Linked DNA regions of Homo sapiens: region 2 is linked to region 1. The links are contacts of gene promoters, found by promoter capture Hi-C in blood cells and fetal thymus (Javierre and others, 2016). All regions are on one chromosome and are shown on one strand. The core of a region is centred on a gene start or on the middle of the fragment in contact, and the rest is flanking DNA. Distances in the headings are between cores, read along the strand shown.

What was found. Contacts are between HindIII fragments. The CHiCAGO score rates a contact against its expected background, and 5 or more counts as called.
Region 2: a contact is called between a fragment that was not itself captured here and the fragment with the promoter of C1QBP in region 1, in 4 of 17 cell types (M2 macrophages, M0 macrophages, endothelial precursors and 1 more). The highest score is 6.0, in M2 macrophages.

Annotation. Positions count from the first base shown.
Region 1 is chr17:5,437,535-5,443,603 of GRCh38, forward strand. It overlaps C1QBP (complement C1q binding protein), which reads right to left and starts at 1,621. Exons shown (of 6, transcript NM_001212.4): 1 at 1,308-1,621; 2 at 589-739. The coding sequence starts at 1,539. DHX33 (DEAH-box helicase 33) reads right to left here. Exons shown (of 12, transcript NM_020162.4): 12 at 3,383-6,069. RefSeq lists silencers at 1,288-1,337, 1,448-1,617, 1,596-1,778 and an enhancer at 1,838-2,017. The HindIII fragment of the contact is 1,457 bases long and covers 729-2,185 here.
Region 2 is chr17:6,419,111-6,424,613 of GRCh38, forward strand. It overlaps AIPL1 (AIP like 1 HSP90 co-chaperone), which reads right to left. Exons shown (of 6, transcript NM_014336.5): 6 at 4,628-5,503. Among named protein-coding and RNA genes, the nearest start is that of AIPL1, 13 kb to the right of the region's middle. The HindIII fragment of the contact is 7,641 bases long and covers 1-5,503 here.

The DNA of each region.
Region 1 (6,069 bases), core at 371-2,870:
CAGGATTTTCTCCTGACCTCATGATCTGCCCGTCCCAAAGTGCTGGGATTATGGGTGTGAGCCACCGCGCCCAGGCTCAATTTAAAAACCTGGAAGATGCCAAATGTTTATCTGTGTAATGAGATTATGGATGACTATAATGCAGAAAAGTGTAAACACTTTAACAGTTTAGGAGATGATGGGGGAGCTGACTTAGGTCACAAACTCCCCACCTCTGATGGCAGCCCTTACTACAGTGTAACCCCATCCTGTTACATAGAAGTTACATATTTTTCATTTTCACCCATACTAAACATTAGAGAGCAGTGTCCTATTTTATCAGGGCTGTAAATCAGAGATCAAACTGATTCTGCCAGTACTTTTTTGCACTACATTTTTGTCTCCTTAGTAACCAGCCCACAGCAAATTTGTGTTCGGTGAATGGACTGCCTGGGGCTTACGAAGTTGTCCAAATGAATCCTTCACTCTCTTGAAACCCATTTATCAAAGTATCCACACCTGAACTCAAGGCTCTTCTGGGGATGACCCAGGATGGGTCCTGCAAGGTTAAGGGAGTTGCTGCCCTGGGATCCCCAGACCAGTACTTACTTTTCCCCGGCAACTTTCCGCACTAATTTCGCTTCTGTCCCATTCAGTTCCAGCTCCCAACCTCCAGACATCTTAGGGAGGGTTTTATGCTTCTGAATTTTTCTTTCCTCCTTAATTTCATCACTCAGGAAATCAACAAAAGCTTTGTCTCCTAGAAAAGAAATCCAGATACATAAAAAGGAAAGCCAGTTAGTCTAAAACATAAAACTATTACCCAGGTTATTGCAGCCAGAAACCTGGACTGTTTCTAATCTCTCTGCTATTACGGTTACTCTAGAAGCCTGTTTCCTTATCGGTAAAAATACCATAATAGTAGTAGGAAGCTGAGCCTGATTCTGGAAAAGTGATTTCCAACAATGAACGCATTACCACTTTCCGCTATAAACCAGGAGAATTTCCAATCCTCTTCCACTTGCCAAACGATATAACTATGCTATTTTCAACCACGACCATGGGCCTTCCCAAAGGTCCACTTTCGATAGAATAAGACTAAGGAAAAAGGTACCCTAGTATTTAATTTTATTCACCCCCTACCAAAAGAAAACGAAACTGCTGGATAGGGGAGGTGGGGGAAATATGATCATACGTGGGTTTAGCCCGCTGGTTGCCAATCAATGGAAAAATGTCCCAGACCTCAGAGGTCGGTTGCAGGCCCTATTCCTGGTCTACGTTTTCCCTCTGTTGAACGCAAACCACACCCCCGGCCCGCTAAACCTCACCGTCGGTGTGCAGCGAGCCGCAGCCACAGCCACAGGCGCAGGGTCCGCGAGGCCGCAGGAGGCCCGGCCGCCGCTCGGAACCTGCGCGCACGCTGAGCAGCCCGAAGGGCCGGGTGCACAGCCGGGGTGCCGGCTGCAGGAGCTGCCGGAAAGGCGAGGCGGGCGCGGCAGCGCGGAGGCCGGCGACGGAGGAGCCCAGCACACGGGGCACGCAGCGCAGCAGAGGCAGCATCGCGGAAACGACTGCGAACACGTGCAGATGCAAAGGACAACCCAGGCCTAGGCGCCCCGCGACCTGAGGCGCCGCCGGAAGCCCCGCCCCTGCCCGGAAGCGCTTCCCGCGCCGGCGCTCTGACGACCTAAGGCCAGCGGGCGGAATCGCGCCCTCTGCTGGAGACTCCGGTGCAGCCCGGGAAGCCTCGAATCCGGATTCCGGAGCTTTCTTGCTGCGCTGCCGAGTCCGCTGTCCGAAGCTGTTTAATTCCCTCTAGTGGCCGCTTACCCACTTTCCACCTGCTGTTCTCAAAGCACGCAAGGCTTTTGGGCTGCGTGGAATGCACTCTTGTCTCCCGCCAGCTCTCACCAGACCCTTCCACGGTCACTTTCCTCTAGGAGGCTGTGGTGTTATGATATATATATGTATTGGTTTTCATCCACAGTTCCTGGGTCGTAACTCCTATAGCCCTTGTTACAATGTTCTGTGATAATGTTGGGTGTGTTAGGCCTCAGGAAACAGACTCTCCCCTTCTCCTGCCCTCCTTTTACCTGCCCCAAAGCAGGACTCTAATCTCCTTCCACATTTCTGATTATGGGTCTTAAGTCCCTTCCCAGAGAAGGTCCCACCATATACCCTGGGGGAAGGGATGCTGATGTCCAGAAGCTTCCATAAAAACCCAAGAGGAGAGGGTTTGCAGAGCCTCTGACAGCTGAATACGTAGAGGTTCCTGGAGGGTGGTGGCCCAGGGTAGGCAAGGAACCTCGGAGCTTCTTCCCCATTCCCCACCCTGCTCATCTCATCTGTATCCTTGGTCATATCCTTTATATGAAACCGGTGAATGTGTTTCCCTGAGTTCTGTGAACTGCTCCAGTGAGTTAACATAATCCAAAGAGGGGGGTCGTGGGAACCCCAACTTGAAGCGGGTTGGTCGGAAGTTTCAGAGGCCCAGACTTGCCATTGCTGTCTGAAGGTGGGGGCGGTCTTGGGGACTGAGCCCTCAACCTATGGGATCTGACACTATCTCCAGGTAGATACTGTTGGGATTGAATTGGAGGACACCCAGCTGGTGTCTGCTGCTTAGTGTGGAGGGGAAAAACCCAAACCTTTGGCCACATAAGTCTTCTGTGTTGATTGTTGTGTTGTGAGAGCAAAGGAAAGTCTGAGGGTTTTCCTGAAAGAGGCCTTCTAGAACCTTTTTTTCCACCGGCTCGGAACTCATGCTTGTGCGCACCCAGCCCATATGCTTCATTCTCTTTTCAACAGGAACCTCCTAGCGTTGCTGCTTTAACCAGGTTAAACCCAACCAGACTGTGACATCCTCAAGGGCAGGATCCATGATTAATTTTTGTGACCTTCCCTCTCTGCACCTCCAACCTTGCATCCAAGTTCTAATGGAACATCATTTTTCTGGGGACAAGAAGCCAGCTTATATCATTTAGATAAGTCCAGAGGCTTCCATAAAAACCCGAGGACAGGGTTTGGAGAGCCTCTGATAGCTAAATACATGGAGGTTCCTGGAGGGTGGTGGTCCAGGGACGGCATGGAGGCTGGGAGCTTCTTCCCCATTCCCCACCCTGCTCATCTCCTTATCTGTATCCTTGGTCATATCTTTTGTATGAAACCGGTAAATGTGTTTCCCTGAGTTCTGTGAGTTTCTCCAGTAAATTAATATAACCCAAAGACAGGGTTCAGATTTATTAAAAATCAACAATCCTACCTTCCCAGGATATACAGGACATATAAGCTACTAAGAAGGTATGTCTTACTAACTCATGGTAAGACTAACACTTAATATTTTCTAAATAATTTTCTATGAATAATGGAAAAGAGATGCAAGAAACAAGCCACACACATCATATACAAGATTCATTTTTAATGGATTTGATCGTCGGGTGCAAATTTGAGCATTATTTACAAGAGCTTTCTGTAGAGTTATTTCTGTTCAAATAAAACCAGACTCTCAAAATACAACATAAGCCTGAACCTACTTGATTTTTTTTTCTCCCTCTAGTTACCAAGGAATATCGTATCTCAGATGCATGGCCTACTATCACACTGGTCTTTAAAGAAAAAAAAAAATGCATGGCCACAGTTCCAGGCAGTTCCTGGTAGCTGGATTTAGTGGATTTATATATGACAGTACAGTACATCATCAGTTTCACCCACAGGGCAGAACTTGCCTCCATTCAGGCATCTCTTTACAACTGGCAGCAATGCAGCATTAAGGGTTTTTAGCCAGGACCTGCTGTTTGCAGTCCTGCCCCTTGTAGTGTTACTCTGGGTGTTGCACACTCCATGATTACTAGAAGACAAACACCTGAGGCATGCAATCTGCTTGGAGTGCATCTATTTACATGAAGCTGCTCACGGGAGCTGGTGATTCTTCCAGATATGGGTTTCGTAGGTTGGCAAAGAGTTATCACACCATCAGAGATTTTACCAATGGAAAGAGAGTAGCTGAAGATTATATTGCAATGTTATTGTGAAACATTTAACTTTCTTAAGTTTAAAGTGTACTATCTCCTGCAGCTCAATATAAACAACGATGTATTTCTTTGTAGCAGTATGTGGAGTCAGAATGGGTTTTCCAATCTGATTTAATCCCTGAGCAGCTATGTTAAAAGTTAACTTTTTAAAAAAGCCCAATAAAAAACTAAATACTGTATTAAAACTCTACCACAATGTTACAGGGATAAACTTATTTCTGTACAGAAACATTAAAGCTACTTAGAAGCTGTTTACATCCTTTGCCTCTCAGAAAAAAAATATACATTTCCGGAAACTGTTCAGGTACTTAAGCTGGACATAAATTACCCCAAGTTTTTTCTTTTTCTTTCTTTCTTTCTTTTTTTTTCTGAGACCGTCTCACACTGTCGGCCAGGCTGGAATGCAGTGGCGTGATCTTGGCTCACTACAAACTCTGCCTCCCAAGTTCAAGCAATTCTTGTGCCTCAGCCTCCCCGGTAGCTGGGATTACAGGCGTGTGCCACCATGCCCAGCTAAGTTTTCTATTTTTAGTAGAGACGGGGTTTTGCCATGTTGGCCAGGCTGGTCTTGAACTTCTCAAGCAATCCACCCACCTCAGCCTCCCATCCCAATGCTGGGATTACAGGCATGAGGTGATCCGCCCGCCTTGGCCTCCCAAAGTGCTGGGATTACAGGTGTGAGCCACTGCGCCCGGCCACCCCCCAATTTTTTTTTTTTTTTTTTTTTTTTTACCAGCACTATGAATGATTAAAAATACAATATTTTTCTTACTAAGTAGGACTAAACATTCTAATCCCCTACTGGAAAACAAAAAACAAAAAACAAAAACTGGAAAACTTTTCAGAAAGTCAGCAGTGGTAACAAGTCAGTAAGTGGAAGAACTGGTTCAAAGTTTAAGAATTCAGTAAGATAAGGTATATAGGAGCTGTCAGATCTTCTTTTGCCCACGTATAACCATTTCTGACAGACAGCCCTAAACACTAGCTGAGAGCTTGACTGCACAGGACCACGGCTAGTGTTGGAAATAAAGACTGAGCCGGACTTGACATACACAACTCCGGACAGATGGGACCCTGGAATGGGGCTGCTCCATCAGGCCACAGCTTCCAGAAAGAGAGCATCCATGATCTCTGAAGAGCCTCTTGGGCAGCTTGGCCCCTGGTTATAACTATGATTCATTCATTAAGAAATGACAAAACACCCCACAGATGTATTTGGACCAAGTAAGCACAATAAAAGAGCTAAATCACGGCTTCTTCTAGGGCAAAATATTATCTGGGGAAAGATTACTTGCTTCTGATAATTAAATAGCTAAGAGGAACCGTTAGTGCCTTTTCTCTGCTCAGAATATCAGAACAGGAACAGACTGTGGATATCCTCCAATTCCCTCTGACAATGAGGGTTAGAGAGAGGTGCCTAGCAGTTAGAAAGCAGCAAAGCCAGATTGTCCCAAGTCCCTACGAAGAAGGAAAAAATATCATAGAAAATTAATAAGATGCAAGAATAAGTGTTACAGCTCTAGCTCTTTTAGAATTTGTCCAGCAGGTCTTCTAGACTTCACTGAACTGCCCCCCACCCCCCCCGCCCACACACCAAAAAAGATACAAGAATGTAAGCCCAGATGTGGTGTGGTATCTGGCATAAGCCAATGTTCTCTGGGTTCTAGGTACCCCTCTCCCCTCCCCCACCCCCACCCCCTCTGACCAGGGGACTGCCCGAAAAGAAACAGCTGAAATGGTACACAGTCACTCCTCATGCCCGCATGTTCACTGGTGCCCAGTTAGAGAGAAAAATGGCAACTGTGTATGTGGGAGTCACCTACACACACAAAACACTGATAGGTCAGTTTCCCATGTCTACACGTGACAGGATTCAGAAGGTACAAATCAACCTTCACCCAGGAAGCTTACATGTCTCCTGAAAGCACTGACAGGGTCACGCACTGAGGACCAGGAGGCTCCTTTACTGGTCTCTGCTTGGAGACAGACACAGAGTGGTCCACCCTGAGACACAAGCGTTCAGTAGGGATCGCCATCCCAGGAGGTACGAGATAACAGC
Region 2 (5,503 bases), core at 2,193-4,692, 980 kb after region 1:
GACTAGATGAAGGAAATGTGGCACATACACACCATGGAATACTATGCAGCCATAAAAAATGAGTTCATATCCTTCGCAGGGACATGAATGAAGCTGGAAAACATCATTCTCAGCAAACTAACACAGGAACAGAAAACCAAACACTGAATGTTCTCACTTATAAGTGGGAGTTGAAAAATGAGAATACATGGGCTGGGCGTGGTGGCTCACACTTGTAATCCCAGCGCTTTGGGAGGCCAAGGCGGGTGGATCACAAGATCAAGAGATCAAGACCATCCTGGCCAACATGGTGAAACCCTGTCTCTACTAAAAATATAAAAATTAGCCGGGCATGGTGGCACGTGCCTATAATCTCAGCTACTCAGGAGGCTGAGGCAGGAGAATCACTTGAACCCGGGAGGCGGAGGTTGCAGTGAGCCGGGATTACGCCACTGCACTCCCGCCTGGCAACAGAGTGAGACTCCGTTTCCAAAAAAATAAAAAAGAAAGAGAGAAAGTAAAATGAGAATACATGGACACAGGGAGGGGAACATCACATATCAGGGCCTGTCAGGGGATGGGGGGAAAGGGGTGGGAGAGCATTAGGAGAAATACCTAATGCATGCGGGCCTTAAAACCTAAATGACAGGTTGATAGGAGCAGCAAACTACCACGGCACATGTAATGTATACCTGTGTAACAAACCTGCACATTCTGCACATGTATCCCAGAATTTAAAGTAAAATTTTTTAAAAAAGAAAAAAAAAATCTGACTGAGGTTGCCTGGCCATTTCTCACAGACAGGGAGGCGCCTTGGCCCCAGGACAAGCAACACCTGCACCTGTGCTGTATTCCTTTGCCACGTTTGCAACTCCAGATGCAGGCCAGGCCCTTAGATGTCACTTCTGGTTAGACCTTCTCCCAGCAGGTGGCCCTGCCATGGAGGGCATCAACTGAGGCTGTGGGAGGCAGCCGTGTCCCAGGGGCTGGAAAATGCCAGCTCTAATACCCATTTGTGGCATCTGGGCTTAAGTTCAAATTCTGCCCACACCCCTGAGGAGCTGGAGACACTGTGTGTGTTCTCAGCCTCCTCGGCTCTCCTCTGCTCCCTGCATCCTGGTGGAGATGTGATACCTGCTCAGGCAGGGTCTTGGCAGCCAACAGGTGGCTTATGCAAACAGAGTAGCCACAGAAGCAGAATGAAGATGCGGGAGGGATTGAGAAGCCAGTAAGGAATGGGGGGAGCTAGCAAGAACGAGCAGGGGTGGGAAGCCATTGCTGTGCTGAGGCTGCAGGACCTGGGGAGGCACTGCTTGGAGACCAGTGAGAGCCGTGGCCGGGGACACCTGCTGTGACCACAGGTAAAGAGCGCAACCCCTGCCAGACTGCAGCCCAGCGAGGAGGGAATCAGAAAAGCAAACAGCCCAGTGCCCTCCTCCCGCAAGCAGGTCTCCTGCTGCTGCCTCCTGCCGGCCAAACCCAACGGGAAGGCAGAGGGCACGGGAGCCGGGACATATGTAGGCTGAGCCTCTAGGGCACCCACCAGCGAGGCAGAGGACAGATCGGAGACCCACAGAGACTAAGCGGCAGTATAATGAACCCCCTGAAAGATGCCCACATTTGAATCCCCAGAGCCTGTGGATAGGTTACTTTTTTTTTTTTTTTTTTGAGACGGAGTCTTGCTTCTTCACCCAGGCTGGAGTGCAATGGCACAATCTCGACTCACTGCAACCTCCGCCTCCCGGGTTCAAGCAATTCTCCTGCCTCAGCCTCCCCAGTAGCTGGATTTACAGGCACGTGCCACCACCCCCAGCTAATTTTTGTATTTTTAGTAGAGACAGGGTTTCACCATGTTGGTCAGGCTGGTCTCGATTTCCTGACCTCAAGAGATCCACCCACCTAAGCCTCCCAAAGTGCTGGGATTACAGGCGTGAGCCACCGCGCCCAGCAGGTTACTTTCTAAGGCAAAGGAATTTTGCAGCTGTGATTATTACATTAAGGGCCTTGAGGTGGGGAGGTGAGCCTGGATTACCTGGCAGGTGGGGGCAATGTAAGCACAAGGGTCCTTATAAGAGGGAGACAGGAGGGTCAGGGACCCGCAGAAGCCTCATGGTGACGGAAGCAGAGGGACGCAGAGTGGAAGATGCTCCATTGCTGCCTTTGAAGGGGCCACAAGGCAAGGAATACAGGCAGCCTCTAAAAGCTGAAATAGGCAGGAAAGAAAATGGACTCTCTCCTCCGGCCTCTGGAAAGAACACAGCCCTGCCTGCCAACCCGTTTTAGAATCCCTGACCTCTGGAACTATAAGAGAATACGTGTGTGTTGTTTTAAGCCATTAAGTTTGTGGTAATTTGCTGCATCCACCATGGGAAACTATTGCCCCTGCACAATACCCGAGGAAGGGGGTGTCCCTCGGGCCACTCAGCCCCTTACTGCTGACCCAAAGGACTCCCTGGTCTCAGGGTGTCTGTCAACTCCAGAGGTCAGTATGGTGGCTCCTGCCTGGGAGCAAATGCCTTGGTTTGGTTAACTAGTAATGATTCCTGAGGACGTGCCAGGCCAAAGGGGGCTTCAAAACCCACACAAGGTCGTTTCGTGCTGACCCTTCCAACTGCTCCCAAACAAAGGCTATTGGCATTGCCGCAGGTTGCTGCCTGATAGAAGTTTCACATTCTCTCCTTTTTTAAAAAAAAATGCATCATACCCACATACGAAGCATCCAGTGAAGGAGGCAGCACAGTATAGAAAAGAAAAGAAAAGAAAAAAAAGAAAAGAAAAGAAAAGAAAAGAAAAGAAAAGAAAAGAAAAGAAAAGAAAGCCCCAGCCCAGACTCCTGGAAACCTGATGCTAATCCTGGAGCTACTGCCCCTCTCTAAGCCTCAGTTTCCCCATCTGTACAAGGGGTTGGGACTGAGTTGCCTCCAAGGACCTAGTTTGCTGGCAGCCTCATTCCATAGTTCTAAATGCCTCCTTTCCTGTCATCAGCTTGCCTGACCTTGTGACCTGCAGCGTCAGGGATGGTCAGGGCTGATGGAGAACCGCCACATCCGGAGCCCAAAGCGGCCATCTCCTACCCTGGGGACCCGTCTGCTTGGTCTCTGCTGCCACCTGCTGGCAACTTGAAAACAAAGCCTTCCGGCTGGATCTCCGGGAAAGAAGCCCTTGGAAGAGAGGCCCTGCAAACTATTGCAACTGCCCGCCCAGACCTGACCAGCCACGCCCTTCCTTTAGGTTGGTTTTCAGGGAGCAGAAGGAAGCCCATGCAGCAACCAGAGCCCTGGATGGGAGGCTGCCTGCATCTCTCCCCATGTCTGCCTCCCGCCTCCTCTGCACTAGGAAGATGGGGTGTGGGATGCGGCAGTTTCTGAACAGTGGTTCTACTGGCCCAGCCTCTGCCTTCAGAGGATTGTAACAATAGGACAAGGGTCCCTGTGCACCCTCTCTCCAGGGTATCTCCACCACATGCTATGGGCTTCCTGGTCCCTATCCCCTTTTTCCTGTTTTCAGACATCCAGAGGCATCAGAAGGGGAGCTGTCCACACGGGATGAGCCGGACAGGACCAAGCCCGAGCATAGGCTGCATTCGGGCCTCTGTCCAGCCAGGGAGCCCACAGGCCACGTTCTCACCACAAATGAGGGGGGCACCCTCGCTGCTCGTTGTCCCCAAAAGAAAGGGTAGCTGGTAGGATAGCTACATTCAGACAATGGACAGGGCAAAGGAGACTGGGAAGTCTGCGAGCCACAGTCCCTGGCCCCGAAGTAATGCCCCTTGCCAGGCCCCTCATCTGTTTCTGAGCCACACTCGACTCTGGCTGCCCAGACAACATCCAGGCCTTTCCCCGTAGGCAGCGCTGCCAGGAGGCAGCAGTGAAGGTCCCCTTGGCTCTCTGGCCCCAGCCTCCCTCCCTGTTCCACCTTCTGCAGTTCGAGGCACTCGCTTTGGCCTCAGGACACACCTGCCTTGCTCCCTCTGCAGGCCATAACATCCCCTTCCTCTGACCTCTTCTAAAATCTCCTCTCTCACGTGGTTCCTTCATACTATGGCCCACTGGACTACTGAGCCTAATCATCCAAAAATTGAAACCCCTTTTCTTCAAGGGTGGGAAGGCTTACACATCAAACCTTCTAGTACTGCAAGAAAAAAGGAAGAAGAGGCCGGGCGCGGTGGCTCACGCCTGTAATCCCAACACTTTGGGAGGCCGAGGTGGGCAGATCACCAGAGGTCAGGAGTTCGAGAGCAGCTGGCCAACATGGTGAAACCCCGTCTCTACTAAAAATACAAAAAATTAGCCAGGCACAGTGGCACACACCTGTAATCCCAGCTACTCAGGAGGCTGAGGCACGAGAATTGCTTGAACCTGGGAGGTGGAGGTTGGAGGTTGCAGTGAGCCGAGATCAAGCCAGTGCATTCCAGCCTGGGCAACAGAGTGAGACTCCATCTCAAAAAAAAAATGAAAAAGAAAAAAGGAAGAGGAGAAGAGAAGAAAAACATAAAACACTGCCATGTTAAAATGTACATTATCACTCCAGATGCCAGAAATATCCTCATTCTGGTGTCCCAGGGGTCACGAAATTGGAACCACAGAGAAAGCAATGCAGTGGAAGCATTGCGCTGGGCCCTGTGGGGAAACACACCTACACAGCCACAATCATGCAAATGCTGTTTATTGATTTTCAGATTGTAGAATCAACCTATGGACAAAGCACAGAAGATTTAGTTTTGCTTACAGAGCAGAAGGTAGATGTTAACAACAAGGAAGATGGAAAAGTAAAGTACATCAGAACTTTAGGGATACAGTTAGCGCTGGGGGAACCCCTGCTGGGTGGAGACAAGCTCTGGGGCAGAAGAGAAGCCCAGGAAGCCCTTGGCAGTTGACTACGTGGCCCTGGGCTGGATACTTCGTCGCCCCCCTGCCCCACCCCACACACCTGGGTGGTGCTAGAGGATGTCGCTGGCGTGATAGCCCCTCCTCGTACCCGTCCTTTAGGGAGGACGAAGAGGAGGGAGAGAGTTGGAAGGGGAAGGTCCCAACGCTGCCATGCTCATCAGACACAGAAGGAGGTCACCAGACTGAGGCAGGCGGTGGAGCTTGGACACCAGACTAACTTGAAGATGAGCTAAAACAGGGGCGAGTGGAAGCGGCTTTCCCTAAGGCATGACCCCCAGGGTGCCATGTCAGTTTACCATTGCCGTGGCAACACCCTGGCATACTGCCCTGTTCCGTGGCAAAGACCCCAGGACCCAGAAGTTACTACTCCTTCCCTAGAAATCTTTGTATATGCAGCTCCTTAATCTACATGTAATTAAAAGTGGGTATAAATCTGACTGCAGAACTGCCCTGAGCTGCTGCTCGCTGCCTATGGGGTAGCCCTGCTCTGCAGGGCAGTCACAGAGCTGCAACACTGCAGCTTCAATACAGCTGTTTTGGTTTTGGTTTTGTTTGTTTTTCTTTTGTTTTTTGTTGTTGTTTTTGTTTTGTTTTGTTTTTTGAGATGAAGTTTTACTCTTGTTGACCAGGCTGGA